Regions from separate parts of the Homo sapiens genome. Here region 2 is linked to region 1. Evidence: promoter capture Hi-C in human tissues and cell types (Jung and others, 2019). All regions are on one chromosome and are shown on one strand. Each heading gives the region's core, a stretch centred on a gene start or on the middle of the fragment in contact. The rest is flanking DNA. Distances are from core to core; before and after follow the strand shown.

The links. Contacts are between HindIII fragments. The study calls those that stand out against the background at their distance.
Region 2: a contact is called between a fragment that was not itself captured here and the fragment with the promoter of SEZ6 in region 1, in 1 of the 25 tissues and cell types used here (IMR-90 fibroblasts).

Annotation. Positions count from the first base shown.
Region 1 is chr17:29,003,459-29,008,416 of GRCh38, forward strand. It overlaps SEZ6 (seizure related 6 homolog), which reads right to left and starts at 2,575. Exons shown (of 17, transcript NM_178860.5): 1 at 2,357-2,575. The coding sequence starts at 2,411. The region is part of intron 2 of LOC105371716 (a long non-coding RNA gene); the gene reads left to right. RefSeq lists enhancers at 1-362, 363-987 and a silencer at 2,338-2,521. The HindIII fragment of the contact is 3,335 bases long and covers 233-3,567 here.
Region 2 is chr17:29,195,637-29,200,594 of GRCh38, forward strand. It overlaps the pseudogene LOC100421028. Among named protein-coding and RNA genes, the nearest start is that of MYO18A, 18 kb to the left of the region's middle. The HindIII fragment of the contact is 7,363 bases long and covers 1-4,958 here.

The sequences.
Region 1 (4,958 bases), core at 1,325-3,824:
CTGCAGTCTGCATCCTGCCTATGAGCAAAGCTCTGAGGGCCTCATCAGAGAGGTGGCGGGGCTGAAAGGCTGAGGGATGCACCCCTCGGGCCGAAAAGGCTCATAGCCTGAGGTCTTTGCTCCTTTAGGCTCGCCTTCACAAAGCTAAAGTGCCCAGGAACCCCGGGATGGCCAAATGCGCTGCTCCCCACTGAGATGACTCACTATCCCAATGGTTGGGACCTCCAGTCCAGCCGAGGAGAGAGGAGCCTCTGGCTACCCAGCTCTGACATCCCAGCCCTCTCATCCTCAGGCTTGGCACTTCGGGGCTGCCTCTTCGTCTCCCTTGGGGAGTGAAAATAGAGGTCTTTCCCAACAGCCAGACTCCTACCCCACATATCCCACTGGCAGGTGCCTCCATGGGCACTGGAGATCCTGATAGTCAGGAAGGGACACTGCCCAGGGACACACAGACTTGAGGCCACAGAGTGAGCAGATTCCTCCTAACACTCACACCCACATCCCCATCAGGGCTGGTGGGACTCCTGGCCACACCAGCCTTCCTCCTGGATTCCCACAGTCTCACTCTAGCCCTGCAGGGAGCTCTCTGGCTGAGGCTGCACCCACACACTAGTGGCCTCACACAGTCCTCACACCCATTCACTGCTGACCCCTCACCCAAGATTCGGACCACTTGAAGTGCAGACACACTGGGACTGGCTCCTCTAGTCATGCAGGGCCCTGATTACTCTCACATTCAGACCCACAAACTCACACACAAGGCCTTGACTAACTGCCAGGGGACAGACACAGGCCCTGCGCCCCAGGGGAGCTGTCCAGCGCCAGGACCCATCAGGACCCAAGATAGGTTCGGAATTCCTAGGGACATCCCCAGGCAGCTAGGCAGGGATTCACACTTCTCCTTCCCGGTCTTCATCCCTGGGGTGGGTCTTGCAGGACTCTTCCCCTCTCCCCAGAACGTGAGCACACGGTTTCAAGTTCTGGGCGCTGCCGGAGGATCCAGCATGGGCAGCCCGGTAGCGGGGTGAGGACACTGGGCTGTGTGCAAGTGGAGCTAGAGGCTCAGAAAAAGGCTTCTGCGTCTCCGGGGCCACAGTTTTTCTTCCTGGATGAAGAAAACTGCCGTCCGGGGGCCCAGCCTGTCCCTGGCCGCGCTGCCTTGACCTCGGCAGCGGCCTGGAAAGATCGAGCAGGGAGGTTAGAAACTCCCACCCTCACACTTCACATCAGGCCCTTCAAACCATATGGCAAGGGATGGCAGGTCTCAACTCCAAGTGCGGTTCTGCCGACCCTACCAGCCTACTGCAGCGGGAGAAGGACGTGGGTGCCAGTAGCTTCCATGAGAGCTTGTTTGAGCCAGGACGGCAGGTCCAGACAAGACTCTTCCCCGAGGCACGGAACCCCTATCCTCTCCCCAACACTCCCTTGCCGCTCACACCATGGCCAAGCTTCCCTCTACCCAAGACCGACGAAGTTGGGGACCAGACTCCTAGAGGGGGCGCGGGGATTCTCAGGGTGTGGGGAACAGGTCCTCCAGAGACAAATCTGCCTTGCAGGTGGGGAGTGGACCAGGGCCGGGCAGGAAGGCAGGCCGGGAGGGAGGCAGAGCTCGGGGCAGTGGTGTGTGTGTGTGTGTGTGTGTGTGTGTGTGTGTGTGTGTACAAGGAAAGGACTTTGGGGAGGACAGAGTCTCTATCCCAGGATCTCCGCTGCTGCAGCCGAGGGCAGAGCCAGGAGCCAGATAGGGGGTCCAGGCCCTTGGAGTTTCTCTCTAGAATTGTGCTCTAGGTCCCGACTCTGGCGTGGCAGCGCCAGGGCATGGGGAGGTGAGCGAGGTCCCAACCCCGGGTCCGGCCGCCATCCGGCCCCGTCTCCCCTCAGTAAGAACACTAGAGGCCCTGGAACCGGCGGCAAAGTCGAGCGAAGTTTGGCGGGCGGCAGGGGAAGCGGGACCACGGGCCGCCAGCTGGACCGTCCCGACTCACTGCCTTGCGCCCCCCGGCACGCGCCCCAGCACCCTGAGATGCCTAGAGTGTGGCGAGGTAGCGCGCGGGTGAGCGCGTGTGTGCGGGGAGTGGGTGGCGTGATGAATTGCATCAGAGAAATCCCATTAGATCTGGGGAGATGATTAAAGACGAGGTCTCGGCCGGGCGCGAATGGCGGGAGCCGCGGCAGCTTCCCGCCCGCGAAGCCCGCGCCCCGCCCGGCTTGGCCGGCGCCGGGGGCAGCGCAGCCGGCGGGGCGCGGTGCTTGGACTGGGCAGCCAGATGCCCGAAGCTGGGCACCGGGTCTCCCTTCCCACCCCTGGGGCCCCGCTCCCGCCCCCGTCCTGCCGCCGGATGCCGGGGTCCCTTACCGTGAGCCAGGAGCGCCAGCAGCGAGGGCAGGAGCAGCAGGGCTACCGGGCGCATGGTGCTGGTTGCGGCCGCGCCCTGGGCTGGGACCGCGGCGGGAGGGCGGGGGGCTTGGTGGGGCTTGGGCGCGGGGGCAGAGCCGGGTCCGGCCGGGTAGAGGGAGCGGGGCCGCAGCCGTCACCGCCGCTGCCGCCGCCAGCGCCTGACAGAATCAGCACCACGGCCAGCGCCTGGCGACGGCGCCGGGGATCGCCGAGCGGGGCTGGGGGCGGGGGCGCGGGAGGAGCGGCTTACCGTAAAGTCTCATGCAAAGGCGCAGAGACCCAGGGGCAGGAGCCCAGGCTCCCGCTCCACCGCGACTGCCCTACTCATGTGGGCACACGGCCCCTGCCCTTCTGCGCTGCCCACCCCCAGCCAAGCATGCCACCCTCTTTCCCGTTAACGGCCTGCTAAGGAACCTCAATTAATAGCTCACTGTAGCCTTCTGATTCTCCATGAGAAAGAGCAACACTTTCCCCACCCCTCTCCACCCAATCCTGGTACCTGAGGGCGTCAAGGGTGACCTGGGAAGACATCCGAGAGTGAGGCAGCTGGTGAGGCCCGCGTGCCCTTGTGGCAGTTCCGTCTTGGGACGATAATGAAGATGGCTTTTGAGCGTACAAAGGATAATAAATTATTACTTTGCGCTCAATAAATGCCAGGGCTCCAGGCAGCTGCATCAGCAGCAAACTGTGCTCACAGAAAAGCTTAATTATCCTGATATTATAGTTAAAAGCCAGTGGCACTCGCATCCTGGGGAGACATTCTTCACTTGGCAGGAGGCAACCTGGGCCAAGCTGTGGGCAGCTGAAGGTAGTATCCTGGGTCCCCACGTAGCCCTGGGTCTCCAGGACTCTGCCTTGGCCCCTCTGCAGGACCAGAGAAGCCACAGTGACAGTCGATACAGACCCTTCATGCCATCTCTGCCCAGGTTTCTGGAATTGGTGGAGAAAATGGCATAGGCATGAGAGAGGGTTTCCTAGAGCTGTTATTTTATTTTATTTTATTATTGTTTTTAGAGACAGGGTCTCTGTTGCTTAGGCTGGAAATGCAGTGGCACAATTATATTAATAGCTCACCCAAACTCCTGGGCTCAAGAGATCCTCCCACTTCAGCCTCTCAAGTAGCTAGAACTACAGGCATGCACCCCCAAGCCTGGCTAATTTTTAAATTTTTTGCAGAGATAAGGTCTCATTATGTTGCCCAAACTGGTCTTGAAATCCTGGCCTCAAGAGATCCTCCCGCCTTGGCCTCCCAAAGTGCTGGGATTACAGGCATGAGCCACTGTGCCCTACGGCTGTTTTAGATAGAGACTTGAAGGAGGCCCAGGGGTGTAGCCTGTACTATTAAAGGCATGGAAAAATAACTTTCCAGGGCCCTGCTTGGGCTGAGGAGCCCCAGTGAGTCACAGGACAGCAAGGGGGCAGTCACAGCTGTGCCATCCTGAGGCTGCTCTTTAAAGGCAGGGGCTCATGGATGGGCTCACTTGAAGAGCTTTAATGGGTACAATGGGACAGGATCCTATGGCTGATGTTATTATTCCCTGTAGAGGAATAGGAGGGCTGAACTCCCTATTGCCCCTGGGAGAAGGGCAGTTTTTTGTTTAGTTTCTTTTTACATGAACTTGGTTGCTCTCCAAAGCTTCCAGACTCCAGTCATTGTCCAGTGTCCTTCCTGACCCTCATCCTGGAAGCAGGTGGTGAAATTTCTGCTCAAGTTCCTTAGAGAGTGTTTTGGTCCTCTTGACCAGAGTCTCCCAACTCTGCTGGTTGGATTCTCTCCAGACCCTCTTCTTGTGGGCTCTGGGGAGCTGTGATGACTGCTGTAAAGAGTCCCAGGCAGCAGGCAGATGGCGTGTGGAATTAGGAAGACGCTGGGATTTCTGGACAGTTGTTTTGAGAAGCTGAGGAAAAAGAGGGCAGCAGCAGAAGGATGGCAGGAAGAAGGAGGAGCTGATGCAAGAATCAGGGGTGAGGAGAGGAAGCCAGGAAAGAAGGTGCAAGAGGGGAGGCAGAAAGAGAGTTGCCAACAGAGGAAGGGAAGAGACACAGAGGTAGAAGGTTGTGTGACCGGGGGAAGTTTAGGAAAATGCTGGCAAATGTCATGAGATTCCTCTTTTCCTCCTTGAAAGTATTCCTGGGCTCCTCTAGTATTCCTGGTCCCTCATGGCTAGGCAGCTTGGGCAAGGGGAGTGAGTCATGACCTAGGGATGAATCTTGTATTGCCAGGATGATTCATGGGGATTTGGAGGTTGGTGGCAGGCTTGTCTGACTCTCTTAGCAACAGGGCTCCTTGATGGGCTGGGCACTATGCACATAAAGGAGGGGGAGAGAAGCCATCCTGGAACTTGTCACATCACCTTCCCTATGGCCTGAACTAACCTAGAGGGTCCAATGGAGACTACAAGTCCCAGAATACAGTACTGTACCCTGAGCTCAGAAGATGGGCTTGTACTGCATGATGGGCATGACAATGCACCGGGGCTGTCCCTCCCTCCTAAAGGCAGTTAACATAGCCTTTATGCAGTGGGTTCCTAGGCAGGTTGAGGCAGAGCCTGGGCCAAAC
Region 2 (4,958 bases), core at 684-3,183, 190 kb after region 1:
AGTAAAGGGGAAGTCACAAAATACTGCGTGACTAATTGTTAAGTGAAATTGCCTTGGAGGCACAGAGGAAAAAAATCAGAGCAGTGGTCAAGGAACGTTGCACAGAAAAAAGGTAGTATCTGAGCAATAATAGTAGAATGTAGGTGATAATCATGGCATCTACTACTCATTGATGAACATTGTGTGCCTTGCACTTTACTCAGAGTATCTTGTTTAATCCTCACAATGACCCTGTGAAGAAAGTATGATTAGTCTCTTCTGACACAGCAGGAAACTGATCACCAGAAGACCAAGTAGCTTACGCAAGCTCACACAACCACCGAGTGGCGGGGCAGGATTCGAACTTAGTCCTGAAGCCTCCCACGTCAGAGGTCCCCGGGAGGGAACACAAGCAAAGGGTGGGAGGTAGGGGAGGGAGCCCCAGGCACAGCTCCTGGTGTGGCTAGAATGGAGGGCTTCTTTGGAAAAAGTAGGTGATCCGGCTAGAAAAGGAGGTCCAGGCTGGCTCATGGAAGATGCTGGTTTCCAGGCATAGGAACTTTAAGTGATTAATTCAAGGAGATTCCACAGCGAGGCAGGTGTATGTTGGAATAGAGGAAAGGGCAGTGCAGGCAGAGAGGTGCCTGGCAGGTTCAGCAACAGCAGTGCAGGGGGCCGAAAATACAAACTTGAACAAGGAAGATGACTTGGGGACCCAACAGAGGGGACAGGTGTAGGAGAGACTTACAAGGAAGAATGTGTGGGGACTTGGCTTCCAACAGCCGTAAGAGCAACTGAGGGAGGAATTGACAATAGATTCCACAATTGTGGGTGGCCCAGGAAGCTAGGCAAGCAAAAGCAACGCTGTAGGCAGCTGAGGTTAATACAAATGGCTAACGTTTGTTACCAGCTACTATCTATAAGCACTTTACATGTATAAACTCATTTCACCCTCACAGCATTCCTATGAAGTAGGAGTGAGGATCTATTATGATTTCCGTTTTTCAGTTAGAGAAACTGGGGTACAGAGAAGTTAAGCAATTTGTCTGAGGTTACACCACTGGTAAATGGCAGAGCTGGGATTTGAACCTGGGTTCCAGAGGCCTCACTCTTCATCACTTCACTAAACTGTGTCTGTTGAGGTAACATCTTCAGAAAGAAGCAGGGTTTTCCACTCCCACTCCACATTCCCCACCCTCAAAGACCAAGCAGGATGGCAGGATTTTTTTGCTGAGTGGCATTGCTGGGGGGGAGTGTCAGGTCTCTGCTGCTACCCTAAGCCAGCTGCTTGTCACCACCGGGCAGTGAGCATGGGGCGTGCGGTGCTGGGGCCTGCACTGCTGGGGCACTCACCAGCAGGAGGGCACCTGGAGCACGGTCCTTCCTCATCACAGTGGAGCAGAAGTAGCACTAGCTGGTGCAGGCCACAGAGCGTGCCTGGCAAGGGAAGACCCAGCCCAGGTAGCACAACTCCATCGGGTTCAGGAGGAAGCAGCCCAACCCCACCTGCACATGAAGTTCAGGAAGATTTTCTTCCTCATGGCTCTGGACACAAAGCAGTCAGGACTGGAGGGACAGGGGAGGAGTGGCAGTGAAGCAACCATGGCATATCACACCCAGAGAGTAGACCCCACCAGGAAGGCCAGCTCCATGCAGGCCCGCAGCACCACGTGGGCAGTGCAGACAGCCAGGACCCTGTATGACTGCAGGCTGGGGTACCAGGTGGCAGCCCCAAGGCATTTGGGGAAAAACCTCCTCTCCTACTAAGAGCTGCCCCTCTAGAAAGAAAGAAGCCCCAAGGGGCCCCAGCCTGGGTCCAGGGAGAGCCCCTCCAGCTGCCAGCTCTTGCACGGTTTCCAGCAGGTACCCCCTCTCCACATCCACTGTCTCCCATTCACCATCTAGTGCAGCACACAGACAACAAAGAAGATGGAGGGTACGGCCACCAGCACAATCTGGAAAGCCCCAGCGGAAGTGGGAGAAGTGGTCATTGGTGCAGCCAGGCCGCAGGGTATTGCAGATGAACTTGCAGTGCTCATCCCACAGACAGCACTTCCCAGCAGGGCGACAAGCAGGATGTGTAAGACCAGGACAGTGAGCCATACCTTGCCAACCACGGTGGAATCGTTCTGCACTCGGGTCAGGAGCCAGCCCAGGAATGACCAGTCGCTCATCTTGTGATTTCTGTGGACACAGAAATCACAAGAAATTGAAGTGAGGGGACAGGAAGGGAAGGGGACGAAAACATAATGCCCCCACAGCCAGATATTTGCAAAGCTATTTCTGGCCCACAGCAAGAGCTCCAGCTCCATCTGTGCCTGACGCCCAGGCATGCCACTCGCTGCCTGACAAGGATGGGAAGAACAAGCTGGCAGAGAAAAGGACACTGCAGAAGAAAAGATGGAAGCAGTGACTCCCAGAAGGAGCCCAACGCAGCCCAACATTCACCAAGACAGGCTGCACACTTCTATTACAGTTAGGCTTCCACTGAACTCTTCCTAACTCAACAGGCTTTCGGGCCTCCCAACTGTCTTGGCATTTTCTTCAGATCGACATAGTACCAGGCATATTTCTCCCAAGATGCCACGGTGGAAATTCATGACCTAGATTGTGTTTCTTCCGAGTCCAGGGTAACATGTTTTTTGACTACTATGTCAGGGTTTGAAAGAGACAGGCCTTACATCCTCCTGTCTCTGTCCAGTGGATTCTCCTTAAGGCCTCATATTGCAACAATCTCATTTTACTTTACATTTCTGCAGCTTCTGACCCTGAGAATTACTGAAAAAATTCCCAAGGGTATAGCTTGTGGGGCATTTACACCCATTATTTCTGTCAACACTCTCCCTTCTGCCTCTCAAATAAACATGTAGTTTATTTATTTATTGTATTTTTTTAGAGACAGGGTCTTACTCTGTCACCCAGGCTGGAGTGCAGTAACATGAACATAGTTCACTGTAACCTCAAACTCCTAGGCGGAAGTGATCCTCCTGCCTCAGCCTCCTGAGTAGCTAGGACTACAGGTGTGTCCCACATGCCCAGCTAATTAAAAAAAAAATTTGCCGGGCACCATGGCTCATGCCTGTAACCCCAGCACTTTGGGAGGCTGAGGCATGCAGATAACTTGAGGCCAGAAATTCGAGACTGCCTGGCCAACATGGCAAAACCCCAACTCCTGACTCTACTAAAAATACAAAAATTAGCCAGGCGTGGTGGCGCATGCCTTGTAGTCCCAGCTACTCGGGAGGCTGAGGCAGGAAAATCGCTTGAATCCAGTAAGCGGAGGCTGCAGTGAGCCGAGCTCATCATGCCACTGTACTCCAGCCTGGGCGACAGGGTGAGACGCCATCTCAGAAAATATGTGTGTGTGTGTGTGTGTGTGTGTGTGTATTATATATATTGTATATTATATATATTATATATATTATATATTTTTTATATATTATATATTATATAATATATTTTATATATATTATATATTATATAATATATATTATATATATTTTATATATAATATATATTATATAATATATATTATATATAATATATATTATATAATATATAATATATATATTTTGTAGAGGCTTGAGGGAGTCTTCTTATCTCACCCAGGCTGGTCTCGAACTCCTGGCCTCAAGCGATCCTCCCACCTCAGCCTCCCAAAGTGCTGGGATTACGGTCGTGAGCCACTGCACCCAGCTGACACAGTACGTAGCCTGCTTACTACGCAGCAGTACGTAGCATGCTTACTATACAAACTCAGGGTAAAGACCAGACCCCAGCCTTCCCTGTAACTGATTGCCTTCTCTAACTCCCTCCTAAACAGAATCCTGGAGATCCTACTGAGAACCTTCCTTCTTCCTCCTTAACTTTCAGGAAGCCAAGTTGTCTTGACTCTTATCTCCCTGGCTGCTCCGTTTGAGTCAATGTGCTGTTCTTCTCTCCACTCTGTAGACATTAATGTTCCTCAGGATACTTTAAGCCTCTTACTGGTCCTGGAGGACGCAGTCCACTAGGATGGCCACAGGCATTTCCAACTCACATTAAACATACTCTCCTGGGCCGGGTGTGGTGGCTCACGCCTGTAATTACAGCACTTTGGGAGGCTGAGGCAGGCGGATCGTCTGAGGTCAGGAGTTTTTGAGATCAGCCTGGCCAACATGGTGAAACCCCAGCTCTACTAAAAATACAAAAACTAGCTGGGTGTGGTGGCAGGTGCCTGTAATCGCAGCTACTCAGGAGGCTGGGGCAGGAGAATCACTTGAACCTGGGAGACAGAGGTTGCAGTGAGCCGAGATTATGCCACTTCACTCCAGCCTGGGTGACAGAGTGAGACTCTTTCTCAAAACAAACAAACAAACAAAACTTACTCTCCTGGAAAGGAGTGTTATAGTGGCTATGAACTCAGACTTAGACACCCAGAGCTGTGTAACCTCGAGCAAGTTGCTTAAACTCTCTATGCTTCTGTTTCTTCATCTGTGTAATGGAGATTCTAAGGGGATTTACCTCATAGAGTTGTATGGGTTACTTGAGTTAATGTATGTAAAGGACTTAGAAAAGTGCTTGGCACATGGTAAGTACTTCATTAATATTAAGTATTATTATCTCTCCTCCAAAGCTACTCCTCTTCCTGTCTTGGTGAATGGCACCATCATCCAAGTTGCCCAAATCCTGATCATTATCCATCATTTCTCCCTCTCGCTTCTCCTCATCTAATTGGTAACCAAGTCCCCACAGTACTACTTCCTTAATATCTCTCACACCCACTGCCTTCTCATCAGTCCATGGCATAGACTTAGTCCAGACCTTCCCCTTTCTCTTGCCGGCATTATTACACTAACCTCCTAGTAACTTGCTCTGCCTCCAGTTTTGTCCCTTTGATCTACCCTCAAATGGCTGCATTCCTATAGATTTTTTTTTTTTTTGAGACGGAGTCTTGCTCTGTCGCCCAGGCTGGAGAGCAGTGGTGTGATCTCAGCTCA